Linked DNA regions of Homo sapiens: region 2 is linked to region 1. Evidence: promoter capture Hi-C in human tissues and cell types (Jung and others, 2019). All regions are on one chromosome and are shown on one strand. The core of a region is centred on a gene start or on the middle of the fragment in contact, and the rest is flanking DNA. Distances in the headings are between cores, read along the strand shown. Region 1 holds the start of KLHL32 (kelch like family member 32). Region 2 overlaps KLHL32 (kelch like family member 32).

Region 1 (5,335 bases), core at 2,422-4,921:
CTTTTTATAATCTTTGCCAATCTGATACATGAAAATTACAATTTATTTTTAAATCTGCCTTATCTTAATGATGACTAAGAATCCTCTTTATATTTTGTTGAACCTATTTAATTATGTAATTACGATATTCTTTCTTACAGTTAGGGGCTATTTTCTATTCAGCACTGTAAATTTTTACAAAGCTCCCATCATGTGACTAGTTGATTATGTTGAATTAGACTGAAAACAACAACAGCATTTGATATCACAGAATGTGGCAGAGAAAATGTAAACATGAAATAGTTTAACAGTAAAAAGTTTCCTGTGGCACTAGTTTTGAGTTACACTGGCGCTGGCTCCTGATGAATAGGATGAATTAGCTACAAAATGTACCCATAGGTAATTGAGTAAAGCTAAGTGTTAGCTAGAGTTGTTTTGTGTTATCCACTTGAAAACTAGAGAACATCAGCCAAAAATCAATTTTGGTTTTGGCATAATTAATGCTGCTCTGTTCTCTTGAGTAGTACAGTAATTAGAAATATGGCTCAGTGATTCCTTAATGTCACTACTGGTTTGTGACAGAAAACCACGACACTGGCATTAAGAATGACAATTTCCTCCTTACTTGCTTCGGGAGGAGGCAGCTATCAGGAATTGAACAAAGAACTATGACATAGCTCTCTTTCATGATGTAGTTTTAGCTAGAAATCTGATCTGTGTAGAGACAGTTTCAAATCTGATTCTTCCAGAGCTGTTAGAATACAGACTTTATAAAAACTCACAGCACTAGATTTATGCTACCCTCCTATATCTTGGCTCATGGACAAGCTGATGATAGATGAAAAAAATGCTGCAGAAACTTGTGTTCCAAGATGCTTATCAAAGTATATTAAGAGGCAAGCTGAGAAAAACAAAAAAGTGTTACCTACTCAACCAAACTCTAGGATACTTGTTTAAGAAAGTGAAAGAGGTTTCTTTCGTGTAAGACCTCAGTCTTTAATATACCAATGTGACATGAACCTAGTTTTCAGTGTTTCCCCAACTCATTTGACCTGGCACCCAATTTCCTATAGTGAATATATGCTATTTTCCAGCCACCCAGTGTCCACTTTTCTTTTTATATCTAGTGGGGCTATGAGCAGGGGTCCCACACTACCACAACTGAGGGACAGGCCAATGCTCCAGGCTAAAACAACTGGAAGCTGCAGACTACAACTGGGAGTACAAAGAGCAATCAATTGGGACTCACCCATTTCAGCAATGGAAGACACCATCTCATAACATTCCTGTCCTGATATTATCCTGTTGTCACTGCTTCTGTGCCCTCTGGAGTTCTCCTGCTGGCTTTCTATCCTGGGTATCTAGCTAGGCTTCCCATCAATTCTTAGAGCTCCTGATATCCTTCTACTAAGTTCCTTCTTGCCTAAATTAGGCAGAGAGTTTTCAGTTGCAACCAAAGACTCACACTTTAAAAAAAAAAAATCTTCTTCAGCTCATCCCTCATAACATCACTAGATTGAAACAGGAACAATGTATATTTATTGACAACTAAAAGACCTACATGGATTATACCACCTAACACATTCTAGGAGCTCAAAAAATTGCTGAACAAATAATAAGTATTCCAAAAAACAGCTTTTGGGAAGTATTATTTTAAGTCATTTTCTTAATAAGGAGAAAGACTATATATAATGGTACCTAAGAGAGAAATGGTGCCTAACACCTAGTTGCTCCTCTAGGAGTGGAGTAAACTGCAACATATGTTTGTGTTGAATTTTGGTGGCTATTGAATAAACTAATGTCTCTTATTTTAGAGAAATAAAATACTTAAGACAAAATATAAACTTTAAATCAATACTAAGGAGCCATTTAGGAAAATCTTGCCCTCTCTGAACTAGACATTTTACTAGGCATTTACCATTTAAACCTCAACGCCATGTGTCAATGAACAATATTTAGTGAGCCGATACTATGTGGCAGACATTGTGCTAGGGCCAGGAGATACCCTGAGACACTCAGCTTGGGCAGTAAGAGACTCTTCCATAGTCACACAGATGGTGAGTTGGTGGTGTAAATATTCTTTTCCTGTGTAAATGCAATTATAGTCTTTGCTCTATTTAATTATACTAAATAAATAGCTGCTATTTATTCTAAACAGATAATCCAATCAATATAGATGGGCTTAAAATTTTAAGTATTCTCACTTTAGTGACAAACACCTTGGGGATCTTAAAGGACTGTTTTATTTATTGATACCAGTCACTGTCAATATTTTTGGTTCAAAGACGCTTTCATATTCGATTTTCTGATAGAAGACAACGCAATGAAAACTATCAAGTTGCTTATGAAAAATTCTTAGGATGACACTGCACCTAATGTTTGTAGTCAGTTGTTTGTCATTCTTTCCCTTGTCCTATGCTGTGTCCAGGACTGCTAGATAAGTAGGTACCCAGCATCCTAGCGTCCAGATATCAAAACCATGAAAATGAAGCACTACAAGCCAGACAGATAACCTCCAGAGGGAGCAAACGAATAAACCCCCAAATCCTGTGGATCTAGAAGTAGAAAATAATCGCTGAACCACTGATTTGAGACCAATGAGAACATTAAGGACACCTCAAAATAGATCAGGGCACTGTTCCTAGCCCAACTCTGTGGCAGAACATAAACCTGCAAGAAATAGGATTAACATACTATCTTTGCAGTAAGTTAAATCCTGAACTTCTACAAAATACAGTTTACTCCAATTTAGTTACACTCTTCCTGCTTCTGGTGTCTTACCTCCACGTTGGACTAAGGTTTTCAATTCGGTGGTGGAATACTTACCTATTAAAATTACCCACTTTGCTTTAGTGTGAGTTTCTCAGCATGTTTTACACAGGAGTGACCTGAATGACTCGGAAGTGGCACTTGAGTGTGCCAGGCCCTGGAATTTAATGGTATGGTTCTGTGGTTGTTGTCTGTTTGCGGTTTTATTGCTGAATTAGTAGTAACCACAGTAATCACACCCTTTCTCATTTCTCAGGCTTGGGGATTTCGTCCACCTCTGGCGGGTTGGTTCCCCTGACGTTTCTTAAAGTTACTGTGAATTTGTTCTGGTCAGTACCATAGAGTGTATTATCCTAAGGAGGGCCACTGTAGGGCCGCTAGGACTAGAGGCAACTTGAACTTCACAAGTTAGCAGAGCAAGGACTCCCTGGAACACCGAGTTAGGGCCACGGGGTCTGTTTGCTCAGATTGCCCGCCAGCCCTGGGAAAGGAGTCTGGGGGCGAGCAGGCTGGGTTCCCGGGTCTCAGTCGCCGCAGTGGTGGCTACAGACTGCGCATGTGACCCAGGGGCCGGCGACGCAGGTGCCGGAGAGCGAGGAGGAGGGCGGCGTGGAGGAGGGTACTTCCGGGACCGGCGGGCGCGCGCTGGCAGCTCGCCGACGGCGGGGGCGGGGGCGGGGGGCGGCAGGGGAGCGAGCGCGCTGGCGGCGGGCGGTGGCGTTGCGCGCGGGGTGGCGAAAGGATGTGCGCGGGATCGCGGGGGAGGGGGAGGGAGCGCGCGGGCTAGCTGGAGGCGGGAGGGGGCGGAGCCCTGTGGCGTCTGAACCCGCCCCGGGGGTGCCAAGGTGCGTCTCCAGTCTGACGCGACCGCCTGGGGCGGAGTCAGCGGGACGTGCCACCTGCAGTGCTGGCTAGGGCTTTTTATTTACTAGGGAGCAGTTTCCCCGCGCGACAGTTCGGGAGCGCGCAGGCAGTCGCGCGCACACACGCACGCAGGCACACACACACACACACACACACACACACACACACTTTCGCACACACAAACACGCTAGGACGCTCGTCTTCGCTACTGCATCCCCGAACCAGCAGAGCGAAGCTACTGCGGGTTCTGTTAACCTCAGCATCGTGGGGCGAAGCAGAGCCATTGTGCATCAAGGAGAGGCCGGTGCCTGCGCTGCCGTCTCTGGCACCTAACCCAGCAGACCGCTCACCCCATCGGGTAAGCCAGTCTCTCTCCTTGTAACCTGTTCTGCAGACCTGAGGAAGAGGGTGGGAGGCTGCTGGTGCGCCAAGTGGGGGCAGACCCGGAGTTGACATTTCAGGGGCTTGCAGCCCATGCAGCCTCTGCCCGTGTCGTCTAACGGGAGCAGCCACTACTCAGGTTACTTATGCTGCCAGCCCTGGAGTCGCTCCCCCTTTCTTCCCTCCCCCTGAGCCCAATATGTACTGTGCTCCTTGGTTGCCAAGGAGACTTGCTTAAACATCAGCCGTGGGACATCTATTGAAAGAACTGGTTTCTTAAATGATGCCGTTATTTATTTTGATATTTAAAATAAAATATACACTGAGGACCTTTCGTAATTTGGCATTTGTTAATCTGTATTCAGGTGGCGGTTTCATTCAACTTCAAGAAAAGCCGTAATTGCACTATATGGTATGCTTTAAAAAGGATTCGTCAGATGAATTTTTCAACGGATTGTGTCTTGAATCATAATTTACTCCCATTTTGGTGATCTTATAAAGAAAGATGACTGCAGTTTAGATCCCTTCTTCCCCTCTATTTCCAGTTTTATTTTGCAGTTCACTTAGTCGTGATTATTTTAAATTAAAAGCAGATGATTTAATTGTGTTTCCCCACACAAGAATGAGCTTCTATTGTAAATTGACCAGAACAGGAATACGTTTGTGAATTCGTAACGTAAGAAGGTAGCATTCATGACATACATCTTTGCTAGCATTTTTATATCCCCTGCATCAGTATTGAAGCGCAGTTTTTTGCACCTCTGCTCATTTCTGAGAAGATTCTGTTTTTTAAAAAATCTCTTATTGATTATTTTTAGATCTATCTCTATACACAGATAGAGATAGATATAAAATGTGTGCCATGGCTTACTAGAGCTTATATGAAAGTGCAGTGGTTTTTGCTTTTTGTTTTTTTTCTGATGGGACTGGGTCCTCTACTGGAACACTGATAGGCCAATGGAACAGGTCAGCCTAATACCTGGGCTGTCAGTTTTGTTTTATTTTGAGGTCTCGGGTGTCTATTGGGTGAACTTGTAACACAGTACTTGAAGGCATCAGCAATCCAGTAATTACACTTTGCACGAATTTCATGCCTCCATCACAAACAAATGGCCCAGTAAAGATCCACTGGCATTCAAGAATTAATTTTGTTTTCCTTGGATATTTGTTCATCTTTTCTACTTCTTGTTAAATGACCCAAGGAAATAAGTCAAATTCTTCTAATTTAGATTTTAAACTCTGTCATAGAGAGTGTAATAAATAATGTGAGGAGCAAGTAAGCCAAATAATGACAGAGGTAGATAGAGGGGATTTATGCAATTCACAGAGCTTTGGGAGATGA
Region 2 (5,529 bases), core at 1,447-3,946, 100 kb after region 1:
TTTACCAAATATCTAAACACCTGTGGCAAGTCAAATTGGCACATGAAATTAACCACCAGAGATGATGACTGACAAATTTATATTTCCGAATTGGACTTCCCCTAAAATTGTGAAATCATATATCCAACAGCCTGCTTATCATCTCTAGTTGGATGTTTAAGAGGCATCACAAATCCAATGTGTCCTAAATCAAACTTCCAGTTTTCTCCCACAAAACTGCTTATTGCACAGTTTTTTCAATTTCAATTAATGGCAACTGTCCAGTTAATGCAGGCCGCAATTATCTGTGTCATCCTTGACTCTATTTTCTTGCATCCAGACTGCTGGCAGGTCCCCATAGCTGGACCTTCAAAACATATCCAGACTCCAGCCACTTCTAGTACTACCACCCTGGTCTAAACTACCATTATGTTTTGCCTGGAGTTTTGCAGTATCCTCCTAGTCTGTTTTCCTTCTTCAATCCTTGATGCTTTGGAGTCTGTTTCAATACTGCAGCCCCAGTGAACCCACTGAAAACACAAATTGGATTGTCATTTCTGCTCAAACCCTATGACGGTTTCTACTCTTATGCAGAATAACAGCCAGAGTCTTTAAGGGTACATGATTCTACATCATCTGTCATCCCTCCTACAACTCTCAACCTCCGTCCATTCCAGTCACACTGCCCTTCTTGCTATTCCCTCAGACAGGCACCTGAGAATCTTTGCACAGCTGTTTCCTCTGCCTGGATTACTCCTCTAGATAGCTACATGACTTCCTTCCTTGCCCTCTGCAGGTCTTTGCTCAAATACTGTATTACCTTCTCAGAAAGGAGGACTCTAATTTTACCTGTGATAACACCTAATTTTTTTTTTTTTTTTGAGATGGAGTTTCACTCTTGTTGCCCAGGCTGGAGTGCAGTGGTGCGATCTCAACTCACTGCAATCTCCGTCTCCCAGGTTCAAGCGATTCTCCTGCCTCAGCTTTCCAAGTAGCTGGGATTACAGGCGCCTGCCACCACACCTGGCTAATTTTTGTATTTTTAGTAGAGATGGGGTTTCATCATGTTGGCCAGGCTGGTCTCGAACTCCTGACCTCAGGTGATCCATTGGCCTCAGCCTCCCAAAGTGCTGGGATTATAGGCATGAGCCATGGCGCCCAGCCCTGATCACCTAATTTTTAAAGAAGACTTGTATTAGTTCATTTTCATACTGCTATAAAGAAATACCTGAGACTGGGTAATTTATAAAGGAAAGAGTTTTAATTGACTTACAGTTCCACATGGCTGGGGAGGCCTCAGGAAACTTACAATCATGGCATAAGGCGAAGAGGAGGCAAGCACTTTCTTCACAAGGTGGTAGGAGCGAGAAGAGAGCAGGGGAAACTGCCACTTATAAAACCATCAGATATCATGAGAACTCACTGACTGTCATGAGAACATCATGGGGGAAACCGTCTCCACAATCCAATCACCTCCCACCAGGTCTCTCCCTTGACATGTGGGGATTATGAGGATTACAATTTGAGATGAGATTTAAGTGGGGACAGAGATCCAAACCATATCAACTATATTCATATATTACTAAATACATATAATTTAGAAATTGTAAAGACAAAAAAGCCACAATTTAGGTTTTTTAAAACATTTGAAGGCATAGGACTGGTTAGCAAAAGATCTTTCCCCTCTGGGGTTTTGGATCATATTTTTTCAGCATTGACAATCTATAAACTATAAGCTGACAATCTATAAACTGAATTTATAGATACACTTGTAAATATAAAACTGATCAGTGTAACTTCTTTCAATTTCACAAGTAAAACTGATTTTCTTTAAAACTAAATATATATTTTTTGTTTTTATCCTTACAGAAGCTGCTGTGGGGGTGGGAAACACAAGGGTCACTGTCTCTGTTTTCTTTCTACACATGACAGTATGGCATTACTGATGCTGAGATTCATTTAAAATCCAGGGCAACAAGGATTGTACCCATTCCTTAACGTAGAATTTCTTGAATTCTTAGTGGATGCATACTGCTGAAATGGAGATTTAATTGTAAGTCCCAAAGACTTGTCACCCAGCAGGCTTTTCACTGTTTTCTCAGATCCAGCTGGCCTAGTTCTACATGGATAGTATCACCTGAAGCCACTAGAGAACTAGGGGCCAGGAAAATCCTTGGCTAACTAATTGGGAACCTAATGTGGTAACTGTGGTCTCTCTTCTCTTCAACTTGTAACTCTCTGGAGATATTAGAATCTGGTTCAGAAGAGAGTCCTGAAAAGCTGCAATAGGCTCTTCTTGTCTTGTCCTAAAGCAATTGTGACTTTTGAAAAATGTGTGAAAAAATATAGTCCAAGGAGCTGTAGAAATTGACAAAAAATCATCCAGAGATGAAAATGTGCTTAATTTGTCACCTAAATCATATTATACTGTTGTCTGTGAGTAGAAGTTGGCATTGTCCACTTTGTGTCTGATGATTAATCATTTAGGTAGTATCTGTTAGGAAGAGGACTCAAGAAATAGCTTCTAATTTTAGTCAGAAAAAGTAGCACTATTAATAGCGGCCTTGACATTCTGCAAAGCCAAATTAAGCAGTCAACCTGGCATTTTATAAACGGGCTGTTACAGAGCCTCACATCTGGTAGATATTCGATAAGCATTAATTGCCTGGCTGACTATGAGCAGCCACATAGCTGCTGTAATAGAGTCTGCACATGGTGGTGGGATAAGGCTGATTCTGATGTACTGTGGGACAGGACCTTGTGAACATGAAGAAGTATGTGGGTTTTTGTTGTTGCTTTTTTTTTTTTTCAAATTAAATGACTTCATAATTTCCTTTTGAAACTGAGCACATTTCATTAAAAATGGATTTCCTTTTGTCAATTCAAGGTAAGTTACCAGGTAACAGTGATATTGGTCAAATGTTACCTCTTTTTTAAATAGAAAGCTGAGAGCCTTCTAAAGAGCCATCATCATATTCTTCTTTAAAATTATTTGAATCAATGCCAGAGAAATTGTTAACATTTCAGTCATTCATTTAATTTTCATTATCGCGTTTATAATTAGTTCATTGTCTTCATTATAGTGAATGGATGGATAATGGTGAAGTCTGGTCTACATTTTATTCTTTTATTTAAACTGATTCACATCTAGTAAATGTAAGTATTATGAAGCTAGAAAAATAGTTTTAAAGTAATAATAATAGCTAACATTTTTTATCATTTACACTGTGACAGTCATTGTGCTAAGCCCCTTTATATGTATTTGTTTCAAATATATATTGAAATATCACTTTATTTTTCTGCCATATCTTTTCTATGCTTTTAAGATTATAACTTTTATGCTGTTTTATTTAAAGTAAAATTTGCATTCATGCTTATTTGATCTCAGGTATACGGTCAACCTCAGCTTCATCCAAAAGAAGACCACATGTTTAAAGGATAATAAAGCTGATGGAATTTTTAAACTCTTAAAAATTAGTGTTGAGCGAAGGCAGATGTTTTACAAAAGAGGAGAAGACATCTGATCCTGTGAGCCTGATGAATTGGTATAAAGAATTATTGGAATCTGTAGAAATGCCATGATTCTGTTTATCGTCTTTGTAAAAATCTGATTTGGAACGAATTGTCCATAGAGTGGGATGATCCAGCTGCTTGTTGAATCGGTTGCTTTTCATTAGCCCATCTGATGTTGACTGCATTCTGGGCTTGCATGCCTGAACTCCTGAAAGATTGAATTATCAGTATGCTTCTCACTCAGAGAGCTGTGACTCTAATGAGAGATTTTCATATCAAATCATTCATATCACTTTATAATCACAATACAAGTATTAGATGCTTTCTGATCCTGCTACAATTATGGGAATTAGCTAACTTCATGTGAAATTCCAGTAATAGATATGAATGCATTTCTCAGGTAGGCAATGAATATTCATCCTTCTGAGGTCAACTGTGGTTTGAAGAAGTGGAGGAGAGGAGGTCTGTAAGTCTAAACACAGCCTGATTCTGTTTGTCTTTCTTTGAATTGAAGGGCCTACCAGTTTCCCAGTTTATCTGGCAGTCTTTCCAACTTGAGAGGGAGGCACCTGAGTAGGCACAGAAGAATGGTGGTGAAGGCATGGGTTCAAGTCCCGACTCTCCCTCTTACCAGCTTTATCGCCTTGAACCGTTTGCTTAATTTCACTGGGTCTCATTTTCTCATGTTTAAAATGAGGTAATAGTAGTACCTGACTTCACAGAGTTGTGAAAATAAAACTTTAATTCAAGTAGGACTCTGACACAGGGCCTGCCACATGGTAAAAGCTGGGTAAACATGAGTTGCTATTGTCATTGTTCTCATTATCACACCAGAGCTATAGGGAGGCCCTAGAAGAAAAAACTATTTATCTTTCTTTTAATGATGGAGCAAAGCTCATTTCACCCAAGAGAAAATGAAGATCAAGATGGGTAATATGTAAAATATAATTATATAAATTTTGAGAAATAAATACATTATATATATATAAATGTTCATAGGATTAAAAGAAGTCCATCTAATTATTTTTTAAAAGGTGTTTGAAAGCTTGTGGATGATTCCTAAACCCTTTTGTTTCCCCATTTTTATAAGATGTAGAGACTTTGTGTTAGCCTGCATGGACAAAGCATCAAATGTGTTTGCAGAAAAAGTGAGCTTGATGGGAGGATTGCTTGAGCCCAGGAGTTCGAGGTTGCAGTGAGCTATGATCATGTCACTGTACCCTAGCCTGGGTGACAAAGTAAGACCCTGTCTCAAAAAAAAAAAAATTAACTCGAACATTTGGGAAGACTTGAACTCTTCATATTCATTGAGCTGACCTGTTCTTAGATTAGGAAGGTGCCAGGGAAATGGTTGCTTAGCAACTAATGGGGTTAAATGAAACAGTCTGTTAGCTGGGCTCTTGCCCTGTCTGTGTGCATGCCTAATAAAGGAGATGGTCTCCAGTGGGTATTGCTTGACTCACAGCTGTCAAACAAAAGTGATGAATAAAATGCAAGATCGAAGGGAGGGTCCACACCTGGACTGGGCATCTATATTTATGGTCATATACCTTCCTTTATGTTAGATGTTGAAGAAAAAGTTATTAAGAGAGGACATTAAAAATAAGAGAGGGACTGTTGAAATTGAGGGTTAAAATTTTAAGAGCGATCATTAGTTTACATTGAGTTTTAAGAGACTAAGATAATAAGTGATAACTGAGGAAATTCCACACTATTATCTTCAACATTCTTCTAAAAAATTCTCTATAGAAAAGGGATAACAGGGCTGGGCGTAGTGGCTTACACCTGTATTCCCAGCACTTTGGGAGGCCGAGGCAGGTGGATCATGAGGTCAGGAATTCGAGACCAGCCCGGCCAATGTGGTGAAACCCTGTCTCTACTAAAAATACAAAAACCAGCTGGGCGTGGTGGCGTGCACCTGTAGTCCCAGCTACTCGGGAGGCTGAGGCAGGAGAATCACTTGAACCGAGGAGGCAGAGGTTGCAGTGAGCCGAGATTGCGCCACTGCACTCCAGCCTGGGCAACAGAGGGAGATTC

Evidence for each region. Contacts are between HindIII fragments. The study calls those that stand out against the background at their distance.
Region 2: a fragment that was not itself captured here is called in contact with the fragment with the promoter of KLHL32 in region 1 in 2 of the 25 tissues and cell types used here (hippocampus and liver).

The regions. Positions count from the first base shown.
Region 1 is chr6:96,921,057-96,926,391 of GRCh38, forward strand. KLHL32 (kelch like family member 32) reads left to right here and starts at 3,672. Exons shown (of 11, transcript NM_052904.4): 1 at 3,672-3,970. RefSeq lists a silencer at 3,399-3,708. The HindIII fragment of the contact is 13,841 bases long and covers 1-5,335 here.
Region 2 is chr6:97,021,627-97,027,155 of GRCh38, forward strand. All of the region lies in intron 3 of KLHL32 (kelch like family member 32), which reads left to right. Among named protein-coding and RNA genes, the nearest start is that of KLHL32, 100 kb to the left of the region's middle. The HindIII fragment of the contact is 5,153 bases long and covers 121-5,273 here.